Linked DNA regions of Homo sapiens: all the other regions are linked to region 1. Evidence: promoter capture Hi-C in 16 types of primary human blood cells and fetal thymus (Javierre and others, 2016). All regions are on one chromosome and are shown on one strand. Each heading gives the region's core, a stretch centred on a gene start or on the middle of the fragment in contact. The rest is flanking DNA. Distances are from core to core; before and after follow the strand shown. Region 1 holds the start of FNIP2 (folliculin interacting protein 2). Region 2 overlaps LOC105377509 (a long non-coding RNA gene). Region 3 has its middle 290 kb from the start of MIR3688-1. Region 4 has its middle 260 kb from the start of MIR3688-1. Region 5 overlaps GASK1B (golgi associated kinase 1B). Region 6 has its middle 240 kb from the start of MIR3688-1. Region 7 has its middle 3.0 kb from the start of TMEM144.

Region 1 (3,326 bases), core at 354-2,853:
CATGAGAATTTAACTTGGGGAGTTTAAGGTCCTCACAATATGCCTTCCATGAGCGCGCGTGCACACACACACACACGTTTAATTTTCACATGACCACAGTGAGAGACTGTTTTAAATGATGGAATTCAAGAAAAGCAAAATCTAGAACATAAAACTTAATCCAGAATTTATTTCAAAGTTTCACTTGAAACTTTTAAAGGTTTATTATACTGGGTCTAGATCTGTTTAACAGTGAACTGTTTTTGCAAGACATTTTGGCCAAAAAGCACCTAGCATAGTGTCAGAATTGGGAGTTGGTGCTCAATTTTAAAATGTGTTGAAAAATTGTTAAATAAACTTCTCAACATACCTGTGCTCAAAGGCAATATAGGACATTTTAAGGCGTCTTTTAAAAGTTAGCCCTTGAAATCAGAATAGCATAGGGATTTTAAAGACTGGAATCTGTGGTCAAACTGCTTGGGTCAAAACACAGGCTCTACCACTGACAGCTGGATTTTGGGCAAGCCGCCTAAGTTATCTGTGACTTTAAGTTTCCTCACCTGTAAAATGGGAATTATAATAGCACCCACCTCACCGCATTGTCAGAAAAGTAAACGACAGAAATCAACATAAAGCATTTTAGGTAGTAAGCTCTCCATAAATGCTATCAATATTCAAAGGTATGTGTTCGAGAGATCAAATCTATTAAATATACATATCAGCTTTGATCAATTGAAATCTCGGAAATTTCATAATTGCATCTTACTCCCCCTTTCCACACATCATGCGGCATCAACCTTCCACATGATGTGGAAATTACATACTTTCATTCATCCGTTTGAGAGCTTGTCATATATGGCAAGAAAGAAGAAAGATGCCTTTTTCGTGACTGTTGCTCCTTCAGAACTTCAAAACACTGTCACGTACACAATAGGTTGGAGCTGCCCTCAAAATGACAGCTCACAGCTTTGCTGGGCCCGCAGAGGTGCCCAGGCGGCTCTGCCCGGAAGGGGTTCACCCCAATAACCGGAGAATCTCCGGTCGCCACAGCCAAGCACAGCGCACGCCCGGGAACCCCAAGGAACACAAGAGAACTCTGAAATGGGGAAGGACCCTGAGTTGTGGAGAAAGAGCGGGAGGAAGGGTCACGGAGGGTCCGGAGCCACACTCGGATCAGGCGCGTCCACGCTGACAAGCCCGGGACCAGGTGCCGGCGATAGGCAGCGCCGTCCTGGACAGTCCCTTCCCTTTCCCCTACCCGTCCCCTCCCCGGCGAGCACCGAAGCCAACTCGGGTCCCGCGCCAGAATTGCCCCCCGGCGCCCCCTCACCTAAAGGCGGGTCCTTCCTTAGGAGCCCTGCCCTGGGCAGACGCCGCCGCGGAGCTGCCGCTGCTGCCCCTTTTGTTGAAGAGCTTCTGGAGCAGGGTCGGGGCCATGATGCCGCCGCCGCAGCTCCGGCCGTGGCGCTCGGGGGGCCGGCGGCTCAGCGCGCAGCCGGGGGCGGCGGCCGCGGTGGCGGGGCCATCGCGGCGGCGCGGCCGCCCAGCCTTGCGGGAGCGCGGGGCCGCTGCGACTGAGTAACTCTGCTCGGCGCCGGAGCCGCCGGCTGCCGGTCATATGACTGAGCCGGCCCGCCACCGCCTCGCGCGCTGACAGTTATCTCCTGCGGGAGGAGCCCGCAGCCCCACGGCGGCGGCGGCGGCGCGGGAGGAGCGCGGCGGCCCCGGCGGCGGCCATTGGCCCGGCGGCCGCCCGCCCCGGGCTCACGTAACCCCGGCGGGAGGCGGGAGGTGGGAGGTGCGGCCAGGAGCGGGCGGGCGGCCCAGTACTCCGGGCACGCGGGGGACGCGGACGGGGGCAGGCGCGGCACTTAAAGGGGCCCGAGGGGCGAGGGCGGCCGCCGGGGCGCAGCTCCGCGAGTGGCGTGGGGTTCCCACGGAGCCTGGGTTCTTTCGCACAGCGAGCATGCAGCTAGGCCGATCTTTGTTCTTTAGAGACAAAGCCCCTGAACTTGGGTCCTCGCTTTGTTCAGGTACAAGAGCCCGTTCACAGAAGGCGTATGCTAGGGGGGAAGGCTTGGTACGCGCGGTGGCCGCTTCGGTGGGCTGTGATTTGAATCACATAGCACCCAAGGTTTTGTCAGGTTTCCTCCATGTCCAAATTCGATTCCTCCAGGCTTTCACAAAATTTAAACTGTTTATCCAAATCATTTGTTCTGTTTGGCGTCTTGGGCCACCATACCATGGTTATATAAGAAGTTGCATTTGAAATATTAAGTCCCCCCTTTAAAACATACACACACACACACACACACACACACACACACACACACAGAACTCACTACATAGATTTAGAAACTTAAGATATTTTATAGCAAGGGATTGTTTTTCCTAATACATATTTAACAGTCAATCAAGGCATATCAGCAGCAGATATTTGGTTTGAGGAAGGGAGGAGTTCATGTGTTTGAGTCCGCTTTCCTGCCCTGTCCCACCCCAGTCCCCTTTGGAATTTAATCCTTGGTGGTGCAGGGCTCTAAACAGCCAGTGTAGGACACGTTACCAGACTCAAAGCAACTTCTTAATCTATGTTTTAGAGCGTTGGGCTTCACGAATTTTTCCGATGATGGGAAATAGAGATAAAGTTAGTAAGACCCCAACCATGCCTCTTCTAGCTTCTCCATGAGTAGTGAACAGTGACTCACCTGGGCTCTCTTACACTTGTTGAGAGGAGGACTCTTGGAGACTCAAAAAGGAAAATATATTTCCAAAAACATAAGTAATCAAAAGAACCTATTCTGGGCCTATTTTACTTTGCATTTTCTTTTTTTAATTGTGTTAGTTTCTGGACTTGGTTGGGAACTAGCTGTGAATAATGTGCTGAAATTTCACAAAGGTAAGAGAAAGGTGGTAGAAATGGAAACTTAGTCATTTGTTTCCTTCGGACTTTTACTGTTAAAATGGTGGATTAAGTGTTTATCCTGATGAGCAATCATCCTTTTGCACAATTGAGTGTACACAGAACCCTAATTTGCAACTTTGCTATTTCTGTTTGCTGAAGGCCTTTACCTCATAGGGCTGCCAGTGTTGGTCAGGATGCTATATAGAAGGTATTGGCTTTATACGTTGTGACTTTCAGATACAGTCCCAGGTCATACTGTGGCCAGCAACTCACCACCTTTCCTTACTCCATCCTTGGTCAGAAAATGTCCTTTATTCTCCAGACTAAAATCTGCATGTTCCTCATGAGCCTAGCAGCTTTTGTAACTGCATATAGAAGAGGAATTTGACATATTGTGCCTCATTCCTCACTTCCTAGGACTCTTTCAGTTCCAACCCAGTCCAAA
Region 2 (3,326 bases), core at 560-3,059, 760 kb after region 1:
GTGAAGACAAAGAAGTAATGTGTAACTTTTGGGGAATGAGGAGGCTACAGAGCCTGATGGTAAAACTATGTCAGCTGCTCAGGAGGGAGAAGCTGGAAGGGAGGTTTGTTGTTCTTGGCAGGCGGATGTGGAGGTTGGAATGAGTGTAGTCCTTTTAAGTTTTGTTTTGTTTTCTTTCCAGAATATCAGTGACCTTTTCTCCCAATCTAAAAATTTAACTTAAGAGAATATATTATGTGTAAACTTGGGGCAATAAGGGCAAAACAAAACAGCAGCAAAAACAAGGCAATAGCATTTGCTAATCTTTACCTGACAGCTGAAATAGATAGCATTTGTAAAGATGCGGCTCAAAGAAAGTACTCACAATTGATAATTACTGTTGTTGTTGATGTTTAGTTGCGGATCTGTTATGAGTGCCATTTATTTGTCACTAGGCTTTTGTTTATGTGCAATTCATTTTCTCTAATATATTCATAACAAATTTATACAAAAAGTATCAATTTCCCATTTTGTATTCAATGGAATTGAAGTTGAGAAAAATTAAATTAACTGAATAAAGTCACATAGACAGGAAGTCAGAAATCAAATGCAGACTAGTATATGTCCAGGTTCTTTCTTTTACATGGCATTGCAAATATTTAACATACAAAGTGTGAGGTTCTAACCTATACAAATATAGAAAATGGAGGAGCAAATGGATGGCAACTAAAGTAGGAATACACTAAAGATCTATTTTCTATTAATCCACACTTTTCCTTATTTTGACATTGTTTCTATCCCAAGCACAAGTAAGTGTTTCCATTTGGATGCTAATAGGTGCAAGCTTCCCAGCTTCACTTTTAAGACTTGTTAAAAGAAAAACTTTAGTTGAATTAAATTTAAGAGAGTTTAATAGAGCAAAGAACTATTCGTGAATCATGAATCAGCAGCCTCCTGAGCCAGAGTAGGCTCCATGACTTCAGCACAGCCACGGATGTAGGGACAGAAAAAGCAAAGTGATGTACAGAAAACATAAGTGAGGTGCAGAAACAGCTAGGTTGGTTACAGCTTGGTGTTTGCCTTATTTGAACAGGGTTTGAACAGTTGGCCACATCTGATTGGCCAAAACTTGGTGATTGGCCTAAGAGTAGGTTACAACTCCATTTAGTTTATAGTTCAGGATGTACAGAGAAACATTTAGGGTGAACTTAAAATATGTAAGGAGATGGCCTTAGGCTAAACATAATTGAACCGACTTAAGAGATTTGAATTGTTCCCATAAATTGTGGGAAACATCAATAATTTAAAGATGATCACTTATATCATCTTTCATCAAACTATAATGCTGTATTCAAAAAGCAAGAAACCACTGAGAAGAGAAAAACAACAGGTTTACAAGTTATTAATAGCCTAAGTCACAGCTTTGGAAGACAATTAACATTTTTAAAGACAATTATAAAACTTATGAACATGGTTTCCATAGTAACCACTGTTTGCTATTTAATTAGGATATTCTTAAAATTCTGTTATAAAATAAAACACTTCCAGCAATTGTCAAGATATAAAAAGGTTCATGCTGTGTTATGCATGGTAAGGGTTTTCCAGAATTAATAAGGAAGTGTGAACTTGTTGGTTTGTTGTTCTGCTACAGCTGAGGGAAAATGCTGTAATACAATGAGTAGGCACTTAGCCAGGAGGCCATTTCCTAATAAAAACAGTTAGCATTGTGCCATAAGCATAAGAAAAACAGCTTATAAAACACCATATGAAACTTGAACTCAAGGAAAAAGAGGATATGATTTTTTGTAACATCCTAACTTAAAAATAAATGTTCTCTCTTTTGGCCACCAGTATAATACTTAAAATAGTTTGATAATTATTTCTACAGTTGTGTCACTTTTTCTTTTGAGCATTAAAGTAGGTGGCACATCATCCAAAGTCAGGCATTTAAAACATGCACCTTAAAAATAGTTTGTTGTCCGCCTTAAAATACTCTTGTTTATGAGCCTTCAGCAAAGTGTTATTTTTAGCCAACTGAAGTACTGATATAGGAGTAAATGAAAAGAAAAAAAGAAATTCTGGTGGAACTCAACAGAGACAAAGCACACAAAATTTGAATATATTTAGGCCGTAACACTCCAGTTTCTACTCTGTGTGAAAATATTACAAATAAGCATAGTTATTCAAGAATTATAACTTTCTTGCTTAGAAAAGAAGTAGTATACTTAAAGATTTTCAAAAGGACCACACATTTTGGAAATAACAGTATAACTGCTATTGCCAATGCCTTGTTACAAATTATTCTAAATCCTGTATAGTAATTTTCTGCTTAAAGCCAAAATAACAAATACAGTGTGAAAAACAAAACCCCATCGCTGATTGACGAAACCTCTGTATCATATGTGAGAGACATACACAGCAGATCACATGTTTTTGTTGTAGTCTTAGAAATGATGATGACTTTGGAAACATATGAATCTGTTTAGAAGTTTGGAGAGGTCTTTACAAAGGAAGAAAACAGATAGCTGAGCTTTAGTGGGTAAATAGAAGTTTTCCAGGGAGGGAAGAGAAATAAACATCCAGTCAGAAGCCTAATAAGAACCAAGTCTCTAAAAGGTGAAAATATTGGTTATGCTTGGTGTGGCTATGGTATAAAATTGTGCAAGGGGGAGGGAGAAATAAATTCAGAAAGTTAGTTGGGATTTTATTTTCCTGTTCAAAGTGAATGCAAATTCAATCTCAAGCGTGTCTAACTAAAAAGATAATTAATTAGCTTATGTTACTGAAAAATCCAGAGTTAGATAAATGTAAGCTTTCAGTCTCTCAATTCAGGGTCTGATGCAATTAGTAAGACTCAGTTTCTTTCTCTTCATCGTTGAGCTCTGCTTCCCCTCTGTTGGGTTCATATTCAGCTACAGACTCTCCTCATCATAAAATGGGCCTTTGCCTTGTATCCTGAACCAGGTCCCTTCCATGTTTGACCTGTAATTTCTTCTCATTGAATCAGTTTGGTCACTTGCCCATTCCTGATCCAATGCTGCTCTGCACCATTTGGCCAGGTGTATGGTGCTACTTTACCATTGAAGTTGAGAATAGAGCTACATTTGAATAATATAGGGGGCATGGGTCCTGGCAAATTAAAAAAAAAAACTATAATCCATCCCTTAGGCTAGCAAAAGTACAAACAGAACCTTATTCTTAAATTCCTTTTTCCCAGTTACTACATTCACTCCAAGTCTATGGCCTCTGGTCAATATTAATTCCTTCTCATCAGGTCTGGGTGTAGTTCCTCATGGTCATCAAGCATCATCAAACAAGTAGAGAGTTTATCTTTGTCATATGCAAAA
Region 3 (3,326 bases), core at 510-3,009, 650 kb before region 1:
CTTTAGCTGGACACAGAGTGCTGATTGGTGCGTTTACAATCCTTTAACTAGACAGAAAAGTTCTCCAAGTCCCCACCCATCCCAGTAGCCCAGCCAGCTTCCCCTCTCACTGGCACTCACTGCAGGACTTTGCAGCATCTAGCCCGGGCACTCTGGCACCCCAGAGGGAGCTCATCCCCCGATCAAGTCCAGCAGGTGCCGGCCAGCTGCGCCGAGTGCGCAGCCCACAGAGCCCGTGCCCACCTGGAACCCACACTGGCCCACGAGGGCTGCGCGCAGCCCCAGCTCCCACCCGTACCTCTCTCTCCACGCCTCCCCACAAGCAGAGGGAGCTGGCTCCACCCTCGGTCAGCCCCAGAGAGGGGCCCCCACAGCGCAGTGGGGGGCTGAAGGGCTCCTCAAGTGGGGCCAGAGTGGACACCGAGGCCAAGGAGGTGCTGAGAGCGAGCGAGGGCTGCTAGCACGTTGTCAGCCCTCATTGCTGTTGTTGCGGTCTTGCCAATGCACTACAATGTTACGGTCTTGTTGTCTGAGGTAGTACCTGGAGTTCTTTGTCTCACGGCCAAGAAAATTAAGGTGCATAGACACAAGGATGAAGTTGGAACGAAAGTTTAATAAACAAAAGAACGCTCTCTGCAGCGGAGAGGGGGCCCAAAAGTGGGTTGCCATTTTTATAGCTGAATCCAAAAGCTTTTGTAAGAAACTCCCCTCATTTCTGCAGCTGTTTGTGTAACTTCCCTTATCTGTGAAGCTGTCTGTGTAACTCCCCTTATCTGTACAGCTGAAAGCACGTCTTTAGGCAGGCACAAAGTGCAGTTTCTCTTGTTTGTGCAATGGTGTGTATGTTTTGAGTAAGAACCCCTGCTCCCCATGCAAGTTCCCCCAGAGCCCACTGTGTACATACCTGAAAAGGGGAGGAAACTTTTTCCTGGGAGCCCACAATTACACTAAGAATGAAGGCTTCTATGTTAGGCCTTGCTTTCTTATCTGTGCAGCTACAGCCTGAGATTTCCCCAGGTGGCTTTATGCGTGCCTGTAGGTTGATTCTTCAGGATGTCTTTCTGTTTAAAAGAATTTTACCAAAGACCAACTTTAGCTGTCTGCCAAACTATTTTCCTTTCCTCCTCCCTCGCTGTGTCACTCAGGCTGGAGTGCAGTGGCACAATCATGGCTCACTGCAGCCTCGACCTCCTGGGCTCAAGCAATACTCCCACCACAGCCTCCTGAGTAGCTGGGACTACCAGTGTGCACCATCACACCAGGCTAATTTTTAAAAATTTTTTATGGAGATGGGGCCTCACTATGTTGCCCAAGCTGGTCTTGAACTCCTGGATTCAAGACAGCCTACTACCTCAGCATCCCAAAGTGCTGAGTTTACAGGTGTGAGTCACCATGCTTGGCCAAAGACATTTTTAATCTGCCCAATTTTCCTGCCCTACTCCACACCACATCCAATATCCAAGGATGGAGCAGAAACAAGATAACCATGATAAAACTCCCACTTTTGTTAAAAGGAAAACTTAAGGCAAATAATTAAATTTAACAGAGTTTAACTGAGCAAAGAATAATTCAGAATAGGTTCAGCACAACTCTGGGGATGCCACATGGTCAGATAATACTTAAGGACAGAAAAAAGAAGGCAAGGTACAGAAACAGTTAGATTGGTTACAGCCTGGCATTTGCTTTATTTGAACATGGTTTAAACAGCTGACCACCTGTGACTGGCCAAAACTGAGATTGGTGTAAGAGTAGATTACAGGCCAGGCACGGTGGCTCACACCTGTAATCCCAGCACTCTGGGAGGCCGAGGCGGGCGGATCACGAGGTCAGGAGATCCAGACCATCCTGGCTAACATGGTGAAACCCCGTCTCTACTAAACATACAAAAAAAAAAAATTAGCCGGGTGTGGTGGCGGGTGTCTGTGGTCCCAGCTACTTGGGAGGCTGAGGCAGGAGAATGGCATGAACCTGGGAGGCGGAGCTTGCAGTGAGCCAAGATCGCGCCACTACACTCCAGCCTGGGCAACAGAGCAAGACTCCATCTCAAAAAAAAAAAAAGAGTAGATTACAGTCTGTTCATGCATTCAGCTGGATTATAGTTCACTATATATGGAGAAAATTTAGGCTGAACTTAAAATATGTAAGGAGGTAGCTGTAGGCAATTTTGAGAGATTGACCAAAACTTTAAGCATTGACTTCACTCTTTCACCATTATAAATCCATTTATTTGGTCTCAAATCCCACTGGGAAATAGAACAGTGGGTTTTGTAAGCTGGGAACAAGGACAAAGAACAATAGGGAAAAAATGGTTGTTTCAGACTACTTTTTGTAAGGAATAGAGCAGAGGGGCCCTCCTTATTATGCTGGAATCTCCTGTTTTAAGAAGACAGAAAAAAAAAAACCTGGTCCATTTTGGGATTTATCTGCTTTTTAAAAGTTTCAGTTTGATCACATAACATTTAGCATGAATGGTTTCATTTTGTTTTGGTCTGTCAGCGCCTAGTGCAAGAAGTCAGTTCAGAACAATGGCTTCCTATCATTTTGTTTAACAATTCAATAAGGGAAAGGTAGGAAATACAGAGAGGTCTCTGGTGCACAGGAGTGATCAAATCCTGCTAGACAGAAAAATCAAAGAATTTACTGTAGCAGTGAAATAGTCTGCTTAGCCCAGTTTGCTACCTGGAAATAACTCTCATGTCCTCTGGGGACCCAGATGTGCATAATAAAAGGTACTTTCTCAACCGTTACTACCAAGGCCAAATTTAAAGTAGATTGGGCAGTATGCCATACTTTGGAACTGGTTTGGGATTCAGCAATAACAAGCTTTTACAAGCTAAGCTTGTTATTTCTTTGGCAATACAATTCCCTTGAAATCTTAGTAGGCTTCTAGTTTTTTTTGTTGTTGTTGTTGGTTTGTTTTTTGTTTTTTTGTGTTTTGTTTTTTGAGACAGAGTCTCACTCTGTCACTCAGGCTGGAGTGCAGTGGTGCGATCTAAGCTCACTGCAACCTCTGACTCCCAGGTTCAAGCAATTCTCCTGCCTCAGCCTCCCAAGTAGCTGGGATTGCAGGAATGTGCCACTCTGCCCAGCACATTTTTTTCTATTTTTAGTAAACATTGGGTTTTGCCATGTTGGCCAGGCTAGTCTTAAACTCCTGGCCACAAATGATCCAACCTCCCCAAGACCTCCCAAAGTGCTGGGATTACAGGCATGAGTCACTTGCCTGACCCTGTTGTATTTCCTATAGTCTGTTTCATGTGCCAGTATGCACACCCAACATTCTTTTCCAGCCATATTTACTCAACCTGCTTTATTTCTTGACATCT
Region 4 (3,326 bases), core at 602-3,101, 620 kb before region 1:
TTCCCCTTCATTCTTAAATGATATTTAGCTGGATATAGAATTTTGTGTTGACACTTCATTTCTTTCAGCACTTCCACATATAGTGTCACTTCCTCTGGCCTCCATAGTTTCTCCTTATAAATCTGTTGTCATTCAAATTGTTTTTCCAGTATAACTAACGTATCTTTTTTGTCTCAGTGCTTTCAAGGTTTTTCTCTTTGTCTTTTAGTTTTCAAAAGTTTCATAAGTTTGACTGGGATGTGTCTTAATGTAAATTTATTTGGATTTATCTTGTTTGTGGTTTGCTCAGTATCTTCAATCTGTAGGTCTGGGTAGTTTTCAGCCATTATTTCTTCAATATTTTTTGAGCTCCATCCTCTTACTCTTCTCCTTTTAGAACTCTGATACCAAGAATGTTAAATCTTTATAGTCCCATAATTCCCTGAGGTTTGTTCTTTTTTTTTGTTTGTTTGTTTTTCAATCTTTTTCTCTCTGTTCTTCAGATTGGGTAATTTCTATTGTCCTATCTTCAAGTTCATTATTTCTTTCCTCTGTCCCCTCTATACTGTTTTGAGTCCATTCACTGAATTTTAGCTATTATATTTTTCAGTTCTAAACTTTTCATTTATCTTTTTGTATATCTTTTATTTCTTTGCTGATATAATACTGTCTATTTTTTATTTGTTTCAAGCATGTTTATAATGCTTACTGAAACATATGATGATTTCCTTGAGACCTTTATCAGATAATTCTAACATTGCTGTCGTTTCAGTGTTAGGATCTATTTATTATCTTTTTTTCATTCAGTTTGAGGTCTTCTTTATTCTTGGTATGAGTGATTTTTCTATTAAAACCTAGATATTTGTGTATTATATTGAGGTTTGGGATCTTATTTAAATTTCTTGCAAAGGAAAATGGGAGTGGGGAGTGAGCTGCCTGATTACTGCCAGATGAGGTCAAGTTTCAGGTTCCCACCTGGCTCCCACTGAGACCTGAGGGGAGGGGCTACTCATGACTGTTAGGTGAGAGTGGAAGTCCTGCTTCGCATTCAGCCTCTACTCCTGGCTGGGAGGGGTAGAAGAACCTTATTACTGCTCCCCTCTTGGCCTGACATTATGTTGGAGAAGTGGCTTAGGTGAAAGCTTTGTCTCCAGTAGGTCTCCTTTGAGGCCACCCTAGAAGGAAGGGGCAAAGGCATCTCATTACCACTGGATAGGTGTGGAAATCCATGTGGTATCCACTGACACTGCATGAGAGGGATGAAAGTTCCATCTCCCTACTCAGTTTTCTCTGACACTTGTCCAGTGAGAGAGTGGGAGGTGGAGGCTGGTGCTACTGCCATTACATCCTGGGGACAGTGCAAGTCTGCTTCCTCTTGAGCTTTCACTGGGAGTGGGGCTAACATTTTTTCTGTGGTGTTTGGCTGGAGTGGAGCAGTTATTGTCCAATCTTTGTCTCATATATGTATTTTTATGTGTGTGTGTGTGTGTGTGTGTGTGTGTGTGTGTGTGTACATATATTTTTTTTAAATAGAGATGGTGTCTTGCTATGTTGCCCAGCAGGCTGGTCTTGAACTCCTGAGCTCGAGCTATCCACCCACCTTGGCCTCCCAAAGTTCTGGGATTACAAGCGTGAGCCACTGCGCCCAGCCTGTCTAATCATTATCTGTCTCATTAGCTACCCATCTCTTGTTCTTTCAGCTGGAGAGGGCAGGCTTTTGGTAATTTTTGTTTTGTTTTGTTTTGTTTGGCGTGCATTCATTGGTATTTCGGGGTTACGAGTTTCTTTATCTATGAGTCTGGGATATGTGAGTTAAAAAGAAAACCCAGGGAACACACTGCCTCTGGTCCTGTGGTCTCCAGCCAGTCAGCCTTCTCCACCTTTCAGAGTCATCATATGCTTGTTTAATATGTAAAGTCTAGGGTTTGTAGTTGTACTTTGTGAAAGCAATAGGGAATAGTACATTCATTCAATGGATAAGGCATTGGCCTCCTTAAGGGTTGGGCTTTGGGAATAGTATATTCATTCTATCTTCCAGAAGTGGATTTTTTTTTTTTAAAGAAACTGCAGTAAGCTATTATACACACAAGAGGTCTCTTCTGACATACACTTTTGTTTTTTACTCAAGAAAGGCTAATTTTTAGCATTCTCAAACATAATTCTGAAGGATTAATTTGTCATTTTATTTTAAATTCTTAAATATCCAAATTTTCTTCCTTCTCATCTTGAAAAAAATCAGCTTTATCTCATCATTTTCTCAGGTTTATGTTATTCAATAGGGGAGACTATGAGCCTGACAAAACTGTGACATCATTATTATGTATCCACATTAATCAGTGTATTTTTGACACACTGCATTCATTAAAGTCTTTGAAGGAAACATATCACTGCCTTCAAAGATATTACATTCTAAAAATACAAAGTAAAATGTAAAGTAAGATTTCAGAATTTCGAAATTAGGCCGTTTTAGTTAGGAAGAATAAGTTCTAGTGATCTATTGCATATCAAAGTGGCTACAGTTAACAATAATGTATTGTATATTTTAAAATTGCCAAAAGAGTAGTTTATAAATGTTTGCCCTGCAGAGAAATGATAAGCTTGTGAGGTGATGAATATGTTAATTAGCCTGGTCTGCTCATTCCACAATGCACACATACATTAAGACATCATTGTACCACATAAATATTATGCAATTATTATTGTCAATTTAAAATTAATAATTAAAAATTAAAAAAAAATTGAAATTGGTTTATTCACATATCTTTCACACACAAAGAAGCATTCATTGAAAACCTACATTGTTCCCACATCATGAAGATAAATGCAATTTACAATAAACAATCTTTCCCATTTTAATCAATATTTGTAGCTGGAGTGAGACAAGAGATGTTCTAATTCTTGAATCTCTAAACTTGTGTTTATCAAATGTAAACACAAAAGTGAGTTAAATATTGCAACAGGAAATTGGGGCTATCCTAGTTGATTGTCAGCTCCTACTGAGCAGGCAGTGTTGCCTGCTCATAACCCCTCACCCTCATTCCTTCATCTCCTCTCAGGATAGAATGATCAATCTTTTCAAGTGTCACCACAGAAATTTAAATTGGAACGCTTAGTGCCTTTGGAAATGTAGATTACCATTCCAGTTCAAGTGTAGGTGAAGGTCATAAGCTGCTTCTCTAACTCCACTCTCTATAAGCCTTTGGCCATCTAATAATTTAAAACCAATTTCTTTCCATTCAGATGGAGAGGCATTCCCACGACCTCTAACCAGCAAGCAGGATTTTACTACTAAATCACTTCTGCATTTAAAAATAAAAAATTACCATAACAAAACATGGATGCCATTT
Region 5 (3,326 bases), core at 479-2,978, 610 kb after region 1:
GATGGGTGCAGAAAGTATAGAGAGAATAGACTATGAAAAACGTGTGAAAGCAGAGTGTGTTCAGGAAATTGCAAATAGTTCGGAAAAACAACAGATTAGGGTTTAGGGGCACGATGTGAGTTAAGCTGTGGTAAGTGGAGAGTGAGTGTGTTTTATGTCCTGCAAGGAGCCTGGACTTTATCTTGCAGAAAATAGGGAGTCGCTGAAGGGTTTGAAGAAAGGGAGTGATGTCATGGGCTTTGCACTGTAAGAAGTAAGAAGATCACTGAGGTCAGGAATTCGTGGCTCCTTTAACTGGATTAACAAAGGCTAAATCGCCCAGGACTGAGTCACCCTGATGTGACCAAGATTTCATCTGCAAAATGTGATTGTAGAGTCTGGCACAGTGACCACATCATCACCACCCTCTGAAGTCAAATTTGATTCCTGTTTTTTAAAGTGGAATATTGAGACAGGAAGAGTCTTGGAGTTTCCATTTATACAGCAGAAGTTCAGGGCAGACCTAGAAAGCAGAAGTTCCTGCCCATTTGTCAGAACAAAGAAGAATGCCTTGTTTTCAGAGGAGAACTGGCGATTTAAGTTGTTTAGGTAGTTGGTGATGAATGAAGTCACAAGACATTCTCCTTTCCTGCTTCCTTGACTTCACACTTAGCTAACTCCTGAGGAAGTATGGAGATTATTTTAACTCAGTTAGGCCTAGAGAAAACAAACTATGAAGTGAAAAACAGTTAGATAAATAAATATATGAAACATATTTGGAATCACGCAGAGACCTGTTTCTTTTTTATTATTTAATTTAATTTTAAGTTGAAAAATAATATTTGTATATGTTTATGGGCACAATGTGATTATTTGATATATGTTTACAATGTGGAATTATTAAATTAGGCTAATTTAAAAATCCATCACCTTACTTATTTTTTTAAATTTAAATTTTAACTAATTTATTTTTTAGGCTTCTTCAAATCATAGGATGATTTTTTTTGGGTGAAACATTGTAAATATATTCTTTTAGTAATTTTGATATATACGTTATATTATTATTATAGTCACCATTCTGTGCAATAGATCACTAAAGCTTATCCCTCCTGTCTAACCGAAACTTTGTACCTGTTGATCAACACTTTTCCCATCTAACCCCCTCTCCCAGCCTCTGGTAGCCACCATTCTACTCTCTACTTTTGAGCTCAACTTTTTTAGATTCCACATATAAGAGAGGTCATGCAGTATTTGTCTTTCTGTGCCTGTATTATTTTGCTTAAAATAGTGTCATCCAGTTTCATCCATGTTGTCACAAATGACAGGATTTCTCCCTTTTTAAAGGGTGAATAATAGTACTCCATTATGTTTACGTAACAAAACACATTTTTCTTATCCATTTTCTGATGATGGACACCTAGGTTGCTTCCATATCTTAGCTATTATAAGTAGTGCTGCAGTGAACATGGGAGTGCAGACATCTCTTCGGCATACTGATTTCAATTCCTTTGGATAGATACCCAGAATTAGGATTACTGGATAGTATGGTAATTCTATTTTTAGTTTCCTGAGAAACTTTCATACTGTTTCCCATCATGGCTGTATTAATGCATATTCCAACCAGCAGTGCTAAGGGTTCCCTTTTCTCCAAACCCTCACCAACACTTGTAATCTTTTTGTCTTTTTGATCATAGCCCTTCTAACAGGGGTGAAGTCATATCTTATTGTGGTTTTAATTTGCTCCAGGACAAGTCCCTAGATTCAGGACTTGTTTGGCCATATAAAATCTATGCCTATGTAATCTACAGACTCCTACCTCCCCACCTACTGTTTTTAAAAATCATGAAAACCTTATGGAGGTTTATTTCTTTTCGCATTAAAGTTTTCCTTCAATGCGTTGTTGACAGTTGTGATGGGGCCCAACAGAATTTGTTTCCTATAACAAAGATGCCACTCAAGTTTGACTGGCTTTTGTTTTCTTCAATGGGTATTATAGAGTTGTTTTTAATGAAGGACTGGAGCTGGACTGTCACTTGCTTTTTATCTTGTTCACAAGGAGTCTTGGAACATGGCCCGTGCAAGAGAAAGAACTTTTGATTTCAGAGCTCAAGACTTTTCTTCTTATTTTTGCTCAGTGACAAATGCTCACAGACATTCATAGCTCCACCCAACATGCTTAGCATTCACCTATAATTCCACAAAACCGCTCAGCCAGTGCTCAAAGTGAAGGGCATTTAATAAATCTAGACAAAGAAGATTGTGTAAAGCACTCATTCTAAGTGAATTTTCATGTTCATCTTCTCAGAAGAATGTCTTCTTTGTGCTTTTGAATAAAAAACGACTTGGGAGAGCACCAAATTCAGCGGAAATATTCAGATTTCAGAAAAAAAGAAGCTTTCCTGGCAAGTCTCATTTTTTAGGACAGCTATATAACCTTTAATTCACATGAACACCCACATATCTTTTAAAACCCGCTTTCTCACCACTGTGACAGAATTTTATCTCTTCACTTGTTGAGATTTCTCTAGAGAGTCCAGTACTGCATCATTTTGACAAACCTGAATGTGGAGAGATGAATGCTTCTCATCTCTGAAACACTTCAGGGTAAGTTGCTTTAACCAGTTTCCTGTTTTCAGAGGCAATTTTTCTGTCATCTCTTCAAATCCATCCAGGTTCATTTAATTCTTTCAAAAGCCTTATATTAAAAGAGGTGGAATTCTCCTCAACAGTAGTACTCATTGCTCTGAGATCTGGAGTTATGCTGACTGCTATTATTACCTGCAAGGGCCACACACACGTATATGTAGCAAGAAGGCCTGTATGTGGAAAGGAACCACAGCCATCTGTGACTCAGTCTGTCTTACTGCTCACCATGCTTTCTTCTTGTTCTCTGGAAATCCCCTTTCCTGAGGTGCACTGATTTCTAGCAGGGCAGGAAAGAATGTCTTTATGCGATAGTTGGCATTCAAAATATTTTGCTGAGGGGAAATGGATGAATTGGGAGAAAAACATAGGCTATTAATTGAAAACCAATTATACTTATCAGCTGAACACTTTATTTGGCAGTTTGAGGACACCTTTTTAATGATTAGTATAGAAAATGTATCATTCCAAAAATTTGGTGATCTAAAATAGAGAAATGGTGACTGACATACAGCATACCCATAAACTAAATTAGGGGTTAATGTATAGCCTGTAGGCCAAAAATGGCCCACTGCCCATTTTTATTTTGTGAACTAAAAATAGTCTCTATAATTTTAAATGATTGACAAAAATCAAAAGATTAGTGATATTGCTATAACCCTTGAGACTCATATGAAATTTAAGTTTCACCATACACAATAAAA
Region 6 (3,326 bases), core at 552-3,051, 600 kb before region 1:
CAGATGGCCATGCAGTGTGTTCCCTGTTTTCCTGATGATGCTTTGGGTTGTCACAATCAATAATGCTTTTACAGAACAAAATAAGGAACTGGAGTTTGCTACATTTGTATTGAAATTCTTCCTCTAGGGCAGCGGTTCCCAGCCTTTTTGGCACCAGCTACTGGTTTCGTGGAAGCCAATTTTTCCATGGACCAGGCAGGGGGATGATTCTGGAATAATTCAAGAACATTACATTTATTGTGCACTTTATTTCTGTTATTACATTGTAATATATAATGAAATAATCATACAACTCACCATAACGTAGACTCAGTGGGAGCCCTGAGGCTGTTTTCCTGCAACTAGACGGTCCCATCTGGGGGTGATTGGAGGCAGTGACCGATCATCAGGCATTAGATTCTCATGAGGAGCACGCAACCTAGATCCCTCCCATGCACCGTTCACAATAGGGTTCGTGCTTCTATGAGAATCTAATGCCGCTGCTGGTCTGACAGGAGACGGAGCTTGAGCGGTAATGCCAGCGATGGGGATCAGCTGTAAATACAGATGAGCTTCCCTTGCTTACCCACCCTTCAGCCCCTGCCTGTGGCCCCGTACCAGTCTGTGGCCCAGGGGTTGGGGACCCTGCCCTAGGGTTCACACATTCCAAAGAGGTGATTTGGAGACTCCACTTTAGTAATAGAAGGAAGCCCTCCTGCATGCCAGCCTGACCAGGACCAGGCTACAGGAATTGCTCATCTAGGGGAATTTATTGGGTGCATGGCCACAGCAGGAGATGCCACAGGGCTAAGCTGTGGTGAAAGCGAGTTTGCCTCAGAGCACTTTTCTCACAGTTGAAAACTGGCTTTATCCTCACCAGGAAAAAAAAAAAAAAGGTCAAAACTCATGCAGACTTTCTGTCACATTTTTTAAAAAAGCATGGAAGCCCATCTCCTCTCTTGAGAACTTCTGGATGGGGATTCCCATACAGCTTCATATACACACATGTCACAGGAAAGGTAAGCAGGACCAAACAACTGGAATCCTTCACATTCTTATATCTGAAAGAGTTCTCAGAAGAGAAATAATCTCTTCTCAGGAGATGGACAGTTTATTTTCAGAGATAAAAGTTTGTTGCTATGTAGAAATAAGCCAGGGAAAATGGTTTGGAATATCTTTAAAAGGGTTAGAATATTTTCCAAATGCCTTCTGATTTCTTGACATCAGAAATGTTTAAATATTTTTTTTAGTTGTAAAACTGCACTCACTGTGTGCATTTACTGTTCCCTTTTTTGCTTTGAATCTTTGTCTTCTTACCCTCTCCCCACTATATTTACATACAAACTTCCTCGCCTGGGACAGAAACAGGCACATCGTCTTCTTCACACTTCTGTGTCACATCAAACAGACTGACTGCTCTTTCTGCACTGCCAAGAACTTCTCAGTAGACAAACCCCAGTCTGACCTAAAAAGTTAATCAATTAATTTTGTAAGATGGTGGTGGCCATTACCTTGAGCAATTGTTTTAAAGCGGGGAAGGGCAAAAGCTTATTTTGTTCTTGGGATGGAAATGAACATTCTCCAAGGCTTTTGTGCAGAGAGTGATAGGATGAGAACTTGAGCAAGAAAAGACACTCATGAGCTTGTCATAAGTTGTAAATGGGGGTTGAAAAAAGCCTAAAGATTTGGCAATAGAGGATTCTGAATAAGCCGGAGAATGGGAATGGATGCATTTTAAAATTTCAACTAGCAGAACCACCCTTCCATGAAGTGTGGAACGTCACAGAAGAATACCAAAAACGGAACTGTTTTTTTAGGGCAGGGTGGGTGGTGATGGTGAGGGCGGTGGGAGAGCAGGGAAAGAAGGAAGGGAGGAGAGAAAAAAACTCTTTTATGGTAGAAATCAACTTACAAATATTGAAGAGCGAATAAAGCACCACAATGGTTAATATGTTTTATTTATTTATATCCCACATTGTTTCAAAAACACATCCAAGGTGTGGGGTTGAAAATCATCTGAAGCTCACTGAAGCACAAATTCCACATTGTGCCTGTCACAACAGGGTGGAGTCTTCCTGTCTGGGTGGACAAAGCTTGATTTAGAGACACAGTGAAGCCGCGCCAGCATTTCAAGGCTGGAGGGTGGTGTTTGCTCTTCAAAGAATCTCCTGCAGGAACGTGTCCTCCAGCAGGGAAGATGTCCTTCATCAATGTGGATTGCAAAGGGGCAACCTCTGGGTGAGACCCAAGGAAGGAAGGAGACCCTCCCTTAAGAGCCATTTATGAAAGATTAGCTCAGAAAGTCAAGGCTTTGAATGCGTAAAGTGGATACATTTGGGTTTCCTTTCTGGGTCTGGAGAAGGAGAAATGAATTTAAAGCATTTATAAGTAGTTTGTCTCTAATAGTGGTATTTATATAAATCCACAGATAAATTGCGTCCTCATGAATTGACTGGGTAAAATGAAATTTCAAATATAGGTTCAAGTTCAGCCATTGCACTCGCTAAGTAGAGATTCTCTGGTTTGGGGGAAGTCTGATGATCGCACACTCTATGAGAGTAAAAAGAAACAGCTATTTAAATATCTTAGGTGCAATCGTATATGACTGACCTTAAAGGACGCTTGAAATCAATGAGGTAAACCACTCTGAGCTCAAACCAGGTAAACTCAGTGCAGCAATCACGGGCAAGATTATGTAGTTAAATCTTTAAGTAATTAAGTAAGAGCATCTGGTACCTACCCCAATCTGAGAATGAAAGGATACAATCTTTTGCTGTTATCAGAAGCCTCCAATTTATGAGTGACATTAACTATTATTAATGGGAAATTCACTTCCCAAAGAGGAGAGTTTTCCTGCCTCAGGAGGGGTCTGCTCCAAACCACAGATATGAACTATTGTGTTGCTTTTTTTTTGCTTTTGAATATTTGCTTATTAATTTATTTCACCATTTAATTGTTTTCTTCTCATCCTTTCCCTTCCCTCCTTTTCCTTGCTATTATTCCACCTCCTTTACCACTATTATTTTCCTGTTTCTTCCCCTATCTATATTTGGTTATTTTTCATTATTTATTTATTTATTTATTTAGAGACAGAGTCTTGCTCTGTTGCCCAGGCTGGAGTGCAGTGGTGCGATCTTGGCTCACTACAACCTCCACCTCCCGGGTTTAAATGATTCTTGTGCCTCAGCCTCCCAAGTAGCTGGGATTACAGGTGCACGCCACCACGCATGGCTAATTTTTGTTATTTTTAGTAGAGATGGGGTTTCACTAGGTTGGCCAGGCTGGTCTGGAATTCCTGACCTCAAGTGATCCTCCTGCCTCAGCCTCCCAAAGTGCTGGGATTAGAG
Region 7 (3,326 bases), core at 487-2,986, 560 kb after region 1:
CACAAACTTGCTTCCAAAAATATAGGGCCTAAATCCAACCTAGAATTGTTTCACTTCATGGTCACAAGATCATGTGGTTTATTCTTGCTTCACTCACATGGAGAAACTGAAGCTTGTGTCAGCATTTGCTGAGAATTTCTAAAGTCTAAAAGTGAGTTGGGGGCTGAATTAGGCCTGAGAAGATTCATTAGGGATATGCTAGGCCATTGCCTTTTACATTATGCCACAGAGCAAATCCAAACATGCATGACTCTATTCTTAAACTAAAATTTTTCTTTCAAATTGTTTCGTATACATGAATGCCTAAACAGAATGGTCTGTATTGGGAGAGTCCTGGCAGACACTAGAAGATCCAGGTTCTGACTTTAGCTTCGTCTGTTAGCAATATTTCTCATGGAAACTCATTTAATCTCTTTAAACCTTAGTTTTCTTATATGTAAAATGATAATAATAAGACCTGTGCACCTCCCCCTTTTATGTGGTCAAAAGAGATATATATATATATATATATATATATATATATATATATATATATATATATATAACATTATTACTAGGACTTCTGGTTTCTGCTCTGACATTTGAAAGGTGTGAAAGTCTCCACTTCCATCATCACAACAAGAAAAAAATGAGCAAATCAAAAATCAACTACTCTTTTTAGATCTGCAGAGAATTGATGTCATAGGACATGCCACCTCTTTGCAAACTGAAGAAATAGGTGAATACGGAGAATTACAGCTTATCAGGACAGCAAAAGCCACTGGAGCCAGTAAAGGATAGGGGGGCATTTATACAGTATTTGGCCTATTGCTGAAGGCTGAGTGTGGACTAACTTGAGAGTTGAAAACTCAGAGACAGTGGGAGTCATTCATATGGGAGCATCCACACATTAATGAGTTTTACTTTCAGAAGACAGGACAAAAGTTTCCTCTTTTTTCTGGCATGTGGGAGGAAAACAATAACTATTTGAAATATACTCAGAAACAAAAGCCTGTCCTCAAGGTAAACTTTACCCCAGAGCTTTATCTGAATTAGAGAAAAGGCAACTAGACAGTTTGAACACCTTCTACACTTTCTTTCTCACATAAGGAGAAAAACAAAAGAAGAAACCCTTATGAAGTTCACAGCTCAGGGATTCTGGACAACTAGAAAACAGAGTTTTAGATGTTGGCAAAGATACAGAGAAAAGGGAATGCGTATATACTGTTAATGACAATGTAAACTAGTAAAACCCCTACGGAAAACAGTATGGGGATTTCTCAAATAACTGAAAATAGAAGTACCATTTGGCCCAGCAATCCCACTATTGGGTATCTACTTGAAGGAAAAGAAATTGTTATAATCAATGACACTGGCACTCATATATTTATTGGGGTACTATTCACAATTAGGAATCATCCTAAGTGTCCATCAGTAGTTGATTGGATAAAGAAGATGTGGTATATATAAACTATGGAATATTACGCAGCCATAAAAAGGAGTGAAATCATGTCCTTTGCAGCAACATGAATGGAGCTAGAGGCCATTATCCTAAGTGAAATAACTCAGACAGAAAATCAAGTACTGCATGTTCTCACTTATAAGTGGGAGCTAAACAATGGGTACACATGGACATAAAGGTAAAATAATAGATGCTAGGGACTCCAAAACAGGGAAACGTGGGAGAGGAGAGCAGATTGAAAATTATCTATTGGCTGTAATGTTTACTATTTGGGTGATGGGTTTACTAGAAGCCCAAACCTCACCATTACAGAATCTATCCATGTAGGAAACCTGCACATGTGCCTCCTGAATCTAAAATTGTTTAAAAAGAAATAAGAATTTAAAAATAGAGATTTTATCATAACATTATAGAATGTATCAACTCTCCAATATCTTACGACCACATAAATAGTGTTTTGGTATAATAACTGTGGATCACAACTAGAGAGAGTTGCAAGACACAGACTCTGCTTAAAAATGAGTCTCTAGGAAAACCCAAAGACAACAAATAGGGGAGACAAAAAGAAAGATATTAGAGAAAATAGAAGCCTCTGATACTTACAGCTACAACAACCATTAAGCACAGTCTAACTTCTGGCCCAATACACATAAAAACTAAAGGTCTACTTATCTTGTTTTCTATTATCTGATACATCATGCCTCACTTTCAATGAACAATTATAAGGCATGCTAAAAGGCAAGAAAAAACACAGCTCTGAAATGTCAAAGCAAGCCTCAGAACCAGATTCAGATATGGCAGGGATTTGGGAATTATGAGACTGGAAATTTAAAATATGCTATGACTAATATGCTAAGAGATCAACTGGGAAAAGTGCAAGAACGAATAAACAGAAAGATGAAAACTCAAAGAATCAAAAGGAAATGTTAGAGAACAAAAAATACTACAATAGAAAAGAGAATCACTTTTGATAGCTGCAAAAGAATCAGTGAGCTTGAAGGTATGTCAGTTGAAACTTCCCAAACTTAAATGGAAACAGAAAACAGAATAGGAAAAAGAAACACAATTTCCAAGAACTGTATGAAAATTACAAAAGGCATAAAATACAGGTAATAGCAATACCAGAAGGAAAAGAAAGAAAGCAGCAGAAGATACATAAATAATAGTTATCTAGGTATCTAATAATGGTGGACAACTTTCTAAAATTAATAACAGACATCAAACCACAGATCCAGGAAGATCAGATAACACCAAGCAAGATAAATTTTAAAAAAACTACATGTAGGCATATTGTATACAAATTGTGGAAAATAAAGAGAAAATATTGAAAGGAGTCAGAGGAAAAACTATCACCTTACTTATAAGGAACAAGGATGAGAATTAATCAGACTTCTCAGACACCATGCAAGGAAAAAGAGAGTAGAGTGAAATATTTAGAGTGTTGAAAGAAAAATCCACCAACCTATAATTTGTTTCTTATTCTTAATTGATCGCATAGATAACTTCAAAATAATAATATCAGTAATATATTGGGTGATATTAGTTTATGAATAAATGAAATAAATGACAGCAATGCTTTAAGGAACAGGAGAGAGGCACTGGGAATAATCTTTTATACAGTACCTGCACTACCTGTGAAATGGTATAGTGTTATTGAAAAGTGGACTTAGTTGTAAATGTGTACTGCAAACTCTAGGACAATTTCTAAAAACATATTTTTAAGTATAATTGATATGCTAAGAGAGGAGAGAAAATAGAATCATATAAAATGCTCAATTAAAACTAGAAAAGGGAGCAAAAGAGGTATATTAGTCTATTTGCAGACTACTATAAAGATACTACCTGAGGCTGGGTAATTTATAAAGGAAAGAGGTTTGACTCACAG

The links. The method cuts DNA at HindIII sites, captures the fragments that hold promoters and counts their contacts. A CHiCAGO score of 5 or more calls a contact.
Region 2: a fragment that was not itself captured here is called in contact with the fragment with the promoter of FNIP2 in region 1 in 1 of 17 cell types (M1 macrophages); the score reaches 5.9 in M1 macrophages.
Region 3: a fragment that was not itself captured here is called in contact with the fragment with the promoter of FNIP2 in region 1 in 2 of 17 cell types (erythroblasts and endothelial precursors); the score reaches 8.9 in erythroblasts.
Region 4: a fragment that was not itself captured here is called in contact with the fragment with the promoter of FNIP2 in region 1 in 1 of 17 cell types (endothelial precursors); the score reaches 9.3 in endothelial precursors.
Region 5: a contact is called between a fragment that was not itself captured here and the fragment with the promoter of FNIP2 in region 1, in 1 of 17 cell types (M0 macrophages). The highest score is 5.9, in M0 macrophages.
Region 6: a contact is called between a fragment that was not itself captured here and the fragment with the promoter of FNIP2 in region 1, in 1 of 17 cell types (endothelial precursors). The highest score is 8.0, in endothelial precursors.
Region 7: a fragment that was not itself captured here is called in contact with the fragment with the promoter of FNIP2 in region 1 in 1 of 17 cell types (M2 macrophages); the score reaches 6.6 in M2 macrophages.

What each region holds. Positions count from the first base shown.
Region 1 is chr4:158,767,303-158,770,628 of GRCh38, reverse strand. It overlaps FNIP2 (folliculin interacting protein 2), which reads right to left and starts at 1,603. Exons shown (of 17, transcript NM_020840.3): 1 at 1,310-1,603. The coding sequence starts at 1,416. RefSeq lists an enhancer at 958-1,695 and a silencer at 1,653-1,862. The HindIII fragment of the contact is 6,862 bases long and covers 1-3,326 here.
Region 2 is chr4:158,005,500-158,008,825 of GRCh38, reverse strand. All of the region lies in intron 1 of LOC105377509 (a long non-coding RNA gene), which reads left to right. Among named protein-coding and RNA genes, the nearest start is that of GASK1B-AS1, 160 kb to the left of the region's middle. The HindIII fragment of the contact is 1,968 bases long and covers 826-2,793 here.
Region 3 is chr4:159,417,879-159,421,204 of GRCh38, reverse strand. No RefSeq gene overlaps it. Among named protein-coding and RNA genes, the nearest start is that of MIR3688-1, 290 kb to the right of the region's middle. The HindIII fragment of the contact is 2,133 bases long and covers 693-2,825 here.
Region 4 is chr4:159,383,586-159,386,911 of GRCh38, reverse strand. No RefSeq gene overlaps it. Among named protein-coding and RNA genes, the nearest start is that of MIR3688-1, 260 kb to the right of the region's middle. RefSeq lists enhancers at 2,662-3,235, 3,236-3,326. The HindIII fragment of the contact is 1,455 bases long and covers 1,124-2,578 here.
Region 5 is chr4:158,158,773-158,162,098 of GRCh38, reverse strand. All of the region lies in intron 2 of GASK1B (golgi associated kinase 1B), which reads left to right. Among named protein-coding and RNA genes, the nearest start is that of GASK1B-AS1, 10 kb to the left of the region's middle. The HindIII fragment of the contact is 1,295 bases long and covers 1,081-2,375 here.
Region 6 is chr4:159,365,916-159,369,241 of GRCh38, reverse strand. No RefSeq gene overlaps it. Among named protein-coding and RNA genes, the nearest start is that of MIR3688-1, 240 kb to the right of the region's middle. The HindIII fragment of the contact is 546 bases long and covers 1,529-2,074 here.
Region 7 is chr4:158,205,826-158,209,151 of GRCh38, reverse strand. No RefSeq gene overlaps it. Among named protein-coding and RNA genes, the nearest start is that of TMEM144, 3.0 kb to the left of the region's middle. The HindIII fragment of the contact is 3,243 bases long and covers 115-3,326 here.